3 separate regions of the Homo sapiens genome follow, and all the other regions are linked to region 3. The links are contacts of gene promoters, found by promoter capture Hi-C in blood cells and fetal thymus (Javierre and others, 2016). All regions are on one chromosome and are shown on one strand. The core of a region is centred on a gene start or on the middle of the fragment in contact, and the rest is flanking DNA. Distances in the headings are between cores, read along the strand shown. Region 1 overlaps PDHA1 (pyruvate dehydrogenase E1 subunit alpha 1). Region 2 has its middle 6.8 kb from the start of PDHA1. Region 3 holds the start of SH3KBP1 (SH3 domain containing kinase binding protein 1).

The links. The method cuts DNA at HindIII sites, captures the fragments that hold promoters and counts their contacts. A CHiCAGO score of 5 or more calls a contact.
Region 1: a contact is called between a fragment that was not itself captured here and the fragment with the promoter of SH3KBP1 in region 3, in 5 of 17 cell types (neutrophils, total CD8 T cells, M1 macrophages and 2 more). The highest score is 10.4, in neutrophils.
Region 2: a fragment that was not itself captured here is called in contact with the fragment with the promoter of SH3KBP1 in region 3 in 1 of 17 cell types (neutrophils); the score reaches 5.6 in neutrophils.

What each region holds. Positions count from the first base shown.
Region 1 is chrX:19,355,375-19,358,074 of GRCh38, forward strand. PDHA1 (pyruvate dehydrogenase E1 subunit alpha 1) reads left to right here. Exons shown (of 11, transcript NM_000284.4): 7 at 1-130; 8 at 312-383; 9 at 2,278-2,345. Among named protein-coding and RNA genes, the nearest start is that of PDHA1, 13 kb to the left of the region's middle. The HindIII fragment of the contact is 2,524 bases long and covers 1-2,512 here.
Region 2 is chrX:19,335,827-19,338,526 of GRCh38, forward strand. No RefSeq gene overlaps it. Among named protein-coding and RNA genes, the nearest start is that of PDHA1, 6.8 kb to the right of the region's middle. The HindIII fragment of the contact is 404 bases long and covers 1,107-1,510 here.
Region 3 is chrX:19,886,301-19,889,000 of GRCh38, forward strand. It overlaps SH3KBP1 (SH3 domain containing kinase binding protein 1), which reads right to left and starts at 1,300. Exons shown (of 18, transcript NM_031892.3): 1 at 1,007-1,300. The coding sequence starts at 1,010. RefSeq lists silencers at 702-841, 1,322-1,391, 1,452-1,751. The HindIII fragment of the contact is 9,463 bases long and covers 1-2,700 here.

The sequences.
Region 1 (2,700 bases), core at 1-2,500, 530 kb before region 3:
GGCAGCTTTGTGGAAATTACCTTGTATTTTCATCTGTGAGAATAATCGCTATGGAATGGGAACGTCTGTTGAGAGAGCGGCAGCCAGCACTGATTACTACAAGAGAGGCGATTTCATTCCTGGGCTGAGAGTAAGGACACCTGTGGTGGGGCCGGGGCCAAGGCCAAGGCCAAGGGTATGTCCTTGTGCAGACCCTTGACGATCTTAGAAACATTGGAGAGTTTCATTCTCATACAGGAGCAGGTCATGTGAAAGTAAAATGGTTTGGGGCAGTTGGATTCATGCTTCGCCCCTCCCCTGTTTATTACCAGGTGGATGGAATGGATATCCTGTGCGTCCGAGAGGCAACAAGGTTTGCTGCTGCCTATTGTAGATCTGGGAAGGTAAGGCTCTAAAGCCCTCTGGGCTAGTGACATTTATCTCTGGAAGTTCAAAGACTGCCTCCCATGTGCCTGCTGAAGCTGTTAGTGGGTACCTGCTAATTGAGGTGCATGAGATGGAAGCAGAGTGAAGGGAGCAGGGCTCCTTTGGGTAGCTTGGTCTTGGTAGCTCACCTGCTGGGAAGCCTACGTTTCTCTCATTTGGGGGAAGTCCGTTCTGGTGCTTCCTCTGCTTTGGCCTGTCTTCATGACAACTGATTTGCCTTTTCCTTAGGTTAATTCTGTCCCTCCTCCCCACCCCCCATTAATCATGAGTCCCTTGAAGGAACAGATTGGGGATCCCCACAGTGTCCAGCATAGAATGTCATGTATACAATAGGCATTTAATATGTGTGTCTTATACAAATTAAACAGTATGGTAGAAGCTCGTAATCTTAGTCTTGCTCAGTCCTAAGGATCTTTCCCTTTTCAGTGTATGGCAGTGAGGGAGATGGTAAGAGGGAGACTGGCCTAAAGAGGTTTCACTTCCTTTGGCACTAGTATAGGCTTAGGAGGTTTGGGTGTTCTCCCTAAATCAGTGTTCTACAGCCCAGAAACAAGGTTTCTGAAGTTGGCACTTCAGCGCCATACCATGTACGTTTAGGCAGTGATGTGAATCAGATGTGGCCAGCAATGATGGAAATGTCACAAAGTGGAGAGACAGGGAAGTGAGGGTGGGAATGTAGTAACATTAAATAAGAGCTAATGAGTAGAATGAACTAGAGCAGGACCAAGACTACAGCTTGGGTACAATGGGCTGAGCAGTCTATGTCAGGACCCTAAGGCTGGGAGTGCCAGGCCCTGAGTGATGGGTATTGACGCCACCTCTCCCAATTCCTGAAAAGAATACATGGGGGCCAGCCCTGGCTGGAGACAAGGGGAGTTGTAGAATGTAGTTGTAGAATGTGTGACTTTCCCAAACAGATAACCTTCACAATTCTGAGTTAGGTGTTATTGTTTTGCCCATTTTGCAGACAAGGAAACTGAGCCATAGAGCAGTTAAAGGTACACAGCTACTCTGTCTTGGAGCCAGCTCCCCACTCGCCCATTTTAACTGCTGCACCAAACCAACCAAGGATCCTCAATGTTTCTCCACCCCAGTGTTCAGAGCCGTCTCCTGGAAGTGGGCTAGTGTAGAATGAGCGAGCCCAACTGTCCAGACTCCCAGCAGAGCCTTGGGGTTTGGGTAGCAGAGGTTGTTGGTGCCTGCCAACTTTGTTACACACTAGCAAGGTCTGTGAAGTAGGAGTGGCTGCCAGCCCCACAACACACCATGAGAAAGGAGCATGAGATGGAAATCTGTCTAGCCAATAGCAGGAGGCTCTAGAACATGCTCAGAGCCTTTTTCTTTTTTCACAGGGTCTCGCGCAGTGGCACACTCACAGCTCACTGCACCCTTGACCTTCCAGAATCAGGTGATCCTCCCAAGTAGCTGGGACTACAGGCGCACGCCACCATGCCTGGCTAATTTTTGTATTTTTTGATAGAGATGGGGTTTTGCCATGTTGTCCAGGCTAGTCTCGAACTCCTGGGCGCAAGTGCTCTGCCCACCTCAGCTTCCCAAAGTGCTGGGATTACAGGCATGAGCCACCATGCCTGGCCTTCAAAGCCTTTTTGATTCAAAACAAGCTGTTGGCAGATTGCCTTATTAAAAATGAGAAAGATGAAATATGCAATCAATACTTGCTAGAAATGAGAACAGATCAGTCAACCAATAAGAAATTCGTGACAACTCAGAAGATCTGATAAGACTACACTGGACGCTTAATAAAGGGCCTGCGTTTGAGGCCGTGGATTGCCGGCCTGTTCTTCCAGTCATCGTTCCTAACTAACTAACTGCCTACCGGTTCTGTTTTAGGGGCCCATCCTGATGGAGCTGCAGACTTACCGTTACCACGGACACAGTATGAGTGACCCTGGAGTCAGGTACGCTCATGGGCAGTGTGGTTTCCATAGGGGTGGGCTTTGAATGGTGTTACATGGCAAAAGCAACACATTTCAGTATTTGCTTTTGGAGCTAGATACCAGTTCACTTCATGTACGCAGTTGTGTTGGGCATCAAGTTATCTGAAAGCAGTGCCTCCTAATAAGAAAGCTTTCTGAAAATGCCTACAGTGTATAGTGTGTGTGAGCACAAGCAGCAATTTTTAAAGAAAGAGTGTTATATACCTTAATTGTAGAGGGAAATTGTTACATAAAACAGGGCTGATGGTAGTGTAGTATCTTGGGGGCATTTAGCTTTTGTAGGCATTACCCCAAGTCTACACCTGGCATACTCTAC
Region 2 (2,700 bases), core at 59-2,558, 550 kb before region 3:
CCTGGAGAGCTTGTTATTTTATTTTATTTCTGAGACAGGGTCTTGCTCTAGCACCCAGGCTGGAGGGCAGTGGTGTGATCACAGTTCACTGCAGTCTTAACCTCCCAGTCTCAAGCGATTCTCCTGCCTCAGCCTCCCAAGTAGGTGGGACCACAGGTGCACCACCACGCCCAACTAATTTTTGTATTTTTAGTAGCAGTGGGGTTTCACCATGTTGGCCAGGCTGGTCTCAAATGCCTGACCTCAAGCAGTCCTCCCACCTCAGCCGCCCAAAATGCTGGGATTACAGGCGTGAGCCAACGTGTCCAGCCCGGAGAACTTTTTAAATCAAAGATTGCAGGTTTCCACTCCCAGAGTTTCTTATTCAGGAGGTTTGGGATGGGGTCTGGGAACGTGCATTTCTAACAGATTTCCCAGTTTGTGTTGATGCTGCTTGTCTGAGGTGCACTTTGAGAATTACTAAGTCCTCAACTCCTTAAATTTTAGTTGCCCACATAAGTGGGTTCTTTCCTATATGATTTTCGCAATTCTTTCATCTTTGAAGAACTGTAGAGATTTGAAATCTTGGCTTTCTGGAGCCTTTCCAAAGAACTCAGGATACCTTTTTTTTTTTTGAGTTGGGGTCTCACTATGTTGCCCAGGCTGGTCTCAAACTCTGTGCTCAAGTGATCCTCCCGACTCCTGAGTAGCTGGGACCACAGGCATGTGCCACTGTGTGCAGCTCGGGATATCTTTTGATTAAATCTACCAGTTGCTTTTGAAAACAGTTTTTACAACCTGATCTAAGTCACTTTACAATGTAGGGTTTTGTCTGGTTTTTATAGCCCTGCATCCTAGAATAGGCACTCTTGAAATATCTGTTGGACGAGTGAATGAATGTGGCCCTTTGACACCATGTCAGTTGGATAAATAGGGTTGTGTCCCACAATTAAAGCAGATGAAGCTCTTTGTCTCCTTCCTTCTCTATAACCTATTATGCTACAAAAAAAGAAGTCATAGACAGAATTCTATCCAGATCATTTATTTATGCAGGCACAAAATGTGCCATACATCCTGTTCCCTTAAGCTTGGCAAGGGCCTGTTCTCTCCTTCTGGGAACCGTGACAAGCTTCTTCATGAAGTGTTGATCCCAGGCAGACCCAAACAGGTGGCTTGTCAGACGGTTAGACTCTATTCACACGAGGGCTGGCGGCCCTGAGAGTCTTTTGAGCCAACTGCATATATATATATTTTTTTGAGACGAAGTCTCACTCTGTCACCCAGGCTGGAGTGCAGTGGCGTGATCTCAGCTCACTGCAACCTCTGCCTCCTGGGTTCAAGTGTACCCTCCCTGGCTCAGTGTAACCCGCACGGACCTAGGGGGACTGAACAAAGGGGACTGAACGTGGGAATAAAAGACAAGAGACAAAATAATACATTTGGAAGAAGGGGTCAGTGGCACCTCAGCTTCCCAAAGTGCTGGGATTACAGGCGTGAGCCACTGCTCCAAGCCAGAAGATAGAAATTTCTAAGCTTTGCTTTACCAGTGAGGACCCAGGTCACCAAGAAGTGAAAAGATTTGCATATTTACTTATAGTCACAAGATTCTAGTATAGTGCTCATTAAGGATGGGGCTCTGTCTTAAGTGCCTGACAAATATTAATCCATATAAGCTTTATGACAGCCAGCCCTATGAGATGAATGTTGTCATTATGCTCCATTTAAAGACGAGGAAACCGAAGCACAGAGAGTTTAGGCAAATTGCCCGAGGTCACACAGCTGGTAAGTCGTTGAGCCAGGATTTGAGACCAGGCAGACTGGTGCCAGAGTCCAGATGCTAGGCCGCCTCTCCGTAGGACAGTTCTTAGGTTTCCAAAGGCTGCTTCCGTTTGGGGATCAGCCACAGAAAATGATTGATAGTAACTTCAGGCCAGACTCATCAGTGTGTGCCTAAAATCTTCCCTATTAAAATATGTATTTTTCCACATATCTCCATTGGATAATAGAAAGACATGATGGGCCGAGTGCAGTGGATCATGCCTTTGATTTCAGCACTTTGTGAGGTTGAGGTGGGAGGATCGCTTGAGCCCAGGAGTTCGAGACTTGCCTGGGCAACATAGCGAGACCCTGTCTCTATTTTAAAAATCATATAGAAAGATATGCTCATACTCACTGTGGTTCACCTATCTTAGATTCAGGAACCCCGTGCTCTCCTGAACACACTATGGCACCTCCTTCCATTAATTTCCTTTAGGATCCTGTCATGAGAGGGCACAGCTCATCTTCCATATTTACAAAATGCAAAGCTGACATGAACATCCTTCTCTGGCTTCCCATTATTCTTAGGAAAAGTGTCTAAATCTTTAATGAGGTCTAACAGGACCAGGACAATCTATTGCCAACCTCGTGCTCAGCGCTCAGACCACAGCTAGAAGGTCTCCTCCTCAGTGCTGAGGTCTGAATGTGCCCCCTAAAATTCATCTACTGAAACTTAACCTCCAATGTGAGGGTATCAGGAAGCGGGGCCTTTGGGAGGTGATTAGATGATGAGGATGGAGCTCTGCCCCACTCCCCCAGGCCCCTTTGAATGGAATTAGCACCCTGATGGAAGAGGTTGAAGGGAACACCCCAGGCAATTTTTTGCCCTTCCACTCTTCTGCCATGTGAGGACTCAGCCAGAAGGCCCTCACCAGACACTGAATGCCCTGACCGTGGACTTCC
Region 3 (2,700 bases), core at 50-2,549:
ACTTTATTATGATTTATTATTATCTGCAGCCTTCCTATGCCTGGCCTAGGAACATCCAAAAATAATCTGCCAGAGGCTGAAAAACAGAAGCTGGCTGTCAGCAAGAACATTACCTGGGTAGACCAAACATTTAATAGCCCAAGTAATCATAAGTGCCTTGCCAATAAAGTGGCAGCTTCTCTGGGCAGCAAGGTGGTTCCAATGCTCCGGGGTCTAAATCAAATGGGACCCAGGGGGTTCAAAGGTTAGTTGGCTACTTCGAACTGATGTTTACTCAGTAAATCAAAGACCGGATCACCATTTCCAGGTCCCAGACCCTGAAGACTTAAAGGACAGTATGGGAAGTGGCCTTTTAGCATCACGGAGCAGAGAGCTCGCCAGGCTGGAGGAAGGCAGCAGCGAAAGGGTCGGGGCCGGGAGGAAGGGGGGCGCAAGGAGAGGAGCGTCAGGTGCTCTGGACCCCGGGACTGCGAGCCAGACCAGGAACTGGGGCGTTTCCCGCCCCACCCCCCAACCCCTGTCAACCCCCAGCAAAGGCAACCCAGCCCCCTCCAAGACCCCGAGGTTCCAGCTTCCCCCGAGACAGGACCAGGAAGACACCAGCAGCCCCGCGCAGGGCCGGAGCCCACCAGGTCCGGGTGCCCGTGTCCGCAGCGCAGAGGAGGGCGCGCTCGGGTGCAAAAATGGCCAAGACAAAACTCTCCCCGCCCACCCGAAAAACCAACCACACCCCCTGCATCCCTCAGCCCGAGCCGCCCGGGGCCAGCCCCCGTGATCGTCTGCTCAGGCCCCCGCGGGTTCCCGTCGGCGCCGCGCGCGGGCTCGGCGGGCACACGGGCGCAAGTGGGAGTGAATGGGGGTGCGCGAGGCAGGCGAGGGCGCCCACCGCGGTGTCCCCCGTCCGGACCCTGCCCCCGGGGCGCCCTCCCGGGCTCCGCGGTTCTGGGACTGGCGCGCCGCCCTCAAGGCTGAAGTGGACGCCCGGACGCGGGCGGCCCCCACTCACCCATTGGCGTCGAGCCGGGCCGGGCCGCCGAGGCAGCGTGAAAGTTGGCGGAGGCGGGCGTGGGGGTTGGGGCGCCGGGATCGGGGCGCTGGGATCCAGGCGCGAGGGTCCGGACGCGGCGGCGGCTGGGCCGGCTTCTTCCTCAGTGGCGGCGGCGGCGGCTCAGCGCCGCCCGCTGCTGCCTCTGCTGCTGCTGCCGCTGCTGCCCCGGGGCGACTCCTGCTGCTGCTGTTGCATCGCGGCCCAATGCGCCCGGCTGCGCCGGGTTTCCTGCTCCCCGCGAGTGGAAATTGCGAAAAAAAAAAAAAAAAAAAAAAAAAAAAAAAAAAAAAAAAAAAAAAAAACAGCGCCGCCCAGCCCAGCGCCCGGCAGCCGCGGCCGCGCCGCCCGCTCTCCCCTCCTCCTCAGCGCTGCCGCGAGGCTCCTGCAGCTCCGCCTGCCGGGGACGCGCGGCCGCCGGGCGGGGGCGGGGCCGGAGAGGGGCGGGGCCGGGGCCGGGGCCGCGTCGGGGCAGGCGCCGGGGGCGTCCCTGCGGCTGAGGGGCTTGGGCGCCCTCCTCACCGCCCGCGCCAGAGGCACCCCTCTCCGCGCGGCTGCCACCCACCCGCAGCGGCTGGGCTGACGCCCCGGGAAGTGCCGCGAGACTCCTCGAGACCGGAGGAGAGGGGCTTCTTGGGGGAGGGGCGTGGGAGTGCAGGGGCACGTGGAGAAGGAGGAGAAGGGGGCTGAGCGGGAGGGGGCGACAAGAGGTGGAGGACGGGCTGGGGATGGAGACCAGGGCAGGCCCGGGGCCAAACGCCTGACCAGGGTGATGGCAGGTGGCCCTGGGGCATCGAGGCAATCTGGAATGAGTTTTCCCGGGGGGCTGTTGGAGGGGAAGGAAAAGGGTCCCTTGGAAGGGAGAGAAACGCGGCGTCCCTTCGGTGGGGCGTGGGAACGCAGGCAGGCCAGGTGCGAGTTCCGCACAGAGGAGGCGGTGGCACTGACGTGGGGAAAAACGGGCGAAGGACGCAGCGGGGCCGAGGGGACGCATCGCCTCGCTGGGACCCGCCTAAGCCCCGCCCCAGTGCCTGGGCCAGGTGCGGTTCGGGTGTTCAGGAATGTTCCCGAGCTCTGACGTTCCCAGGAATCCGCTGAGATGAGGGCTGGCTCCCTCCCTAGCAGGCATTATTGTGCCTTACTGACTCCCAGACCTGGACGGCCGACCCTTGAGTGGGCGCTAAAATGTTAACAGGGAATCCGTGGGCATTCGTGGGCAATTCAGAAGCTCCGTTTTGGGTCCATTCACCACCACACCTTTCGCCATAGATACTCTGCCTGCCACCACATTCCTCTACCGGCCCGTTATTTCCTTTTCCCTTTCCACCATCTGGTGGTAGGAAGCGATAGTGAACTACATGGGAGACATTTAGGCAAAGAGCACGTAAGACAATAGAGAAATTACATCAGTGGCCCCTGGAAATGGAGGAGGCTGAGGGCTAGTGGACTCAAAAGGGACAAATGAAAGCCGACCCCCTACCCAAGAGAGGGGCTGTCTCCATACCTCACCTGTGTTGGCGGGGCAACTCTTGTAAATTGGTTACCGTCCTGGGATTTCTGTAGAAAATTGTTCTTATAACTGTTTCATGAGTTTTTCAAAAAACCTCAAAGTCAGGGTCTTACAAACAAGAGATCAGTAGCATCATCTTTCTAAA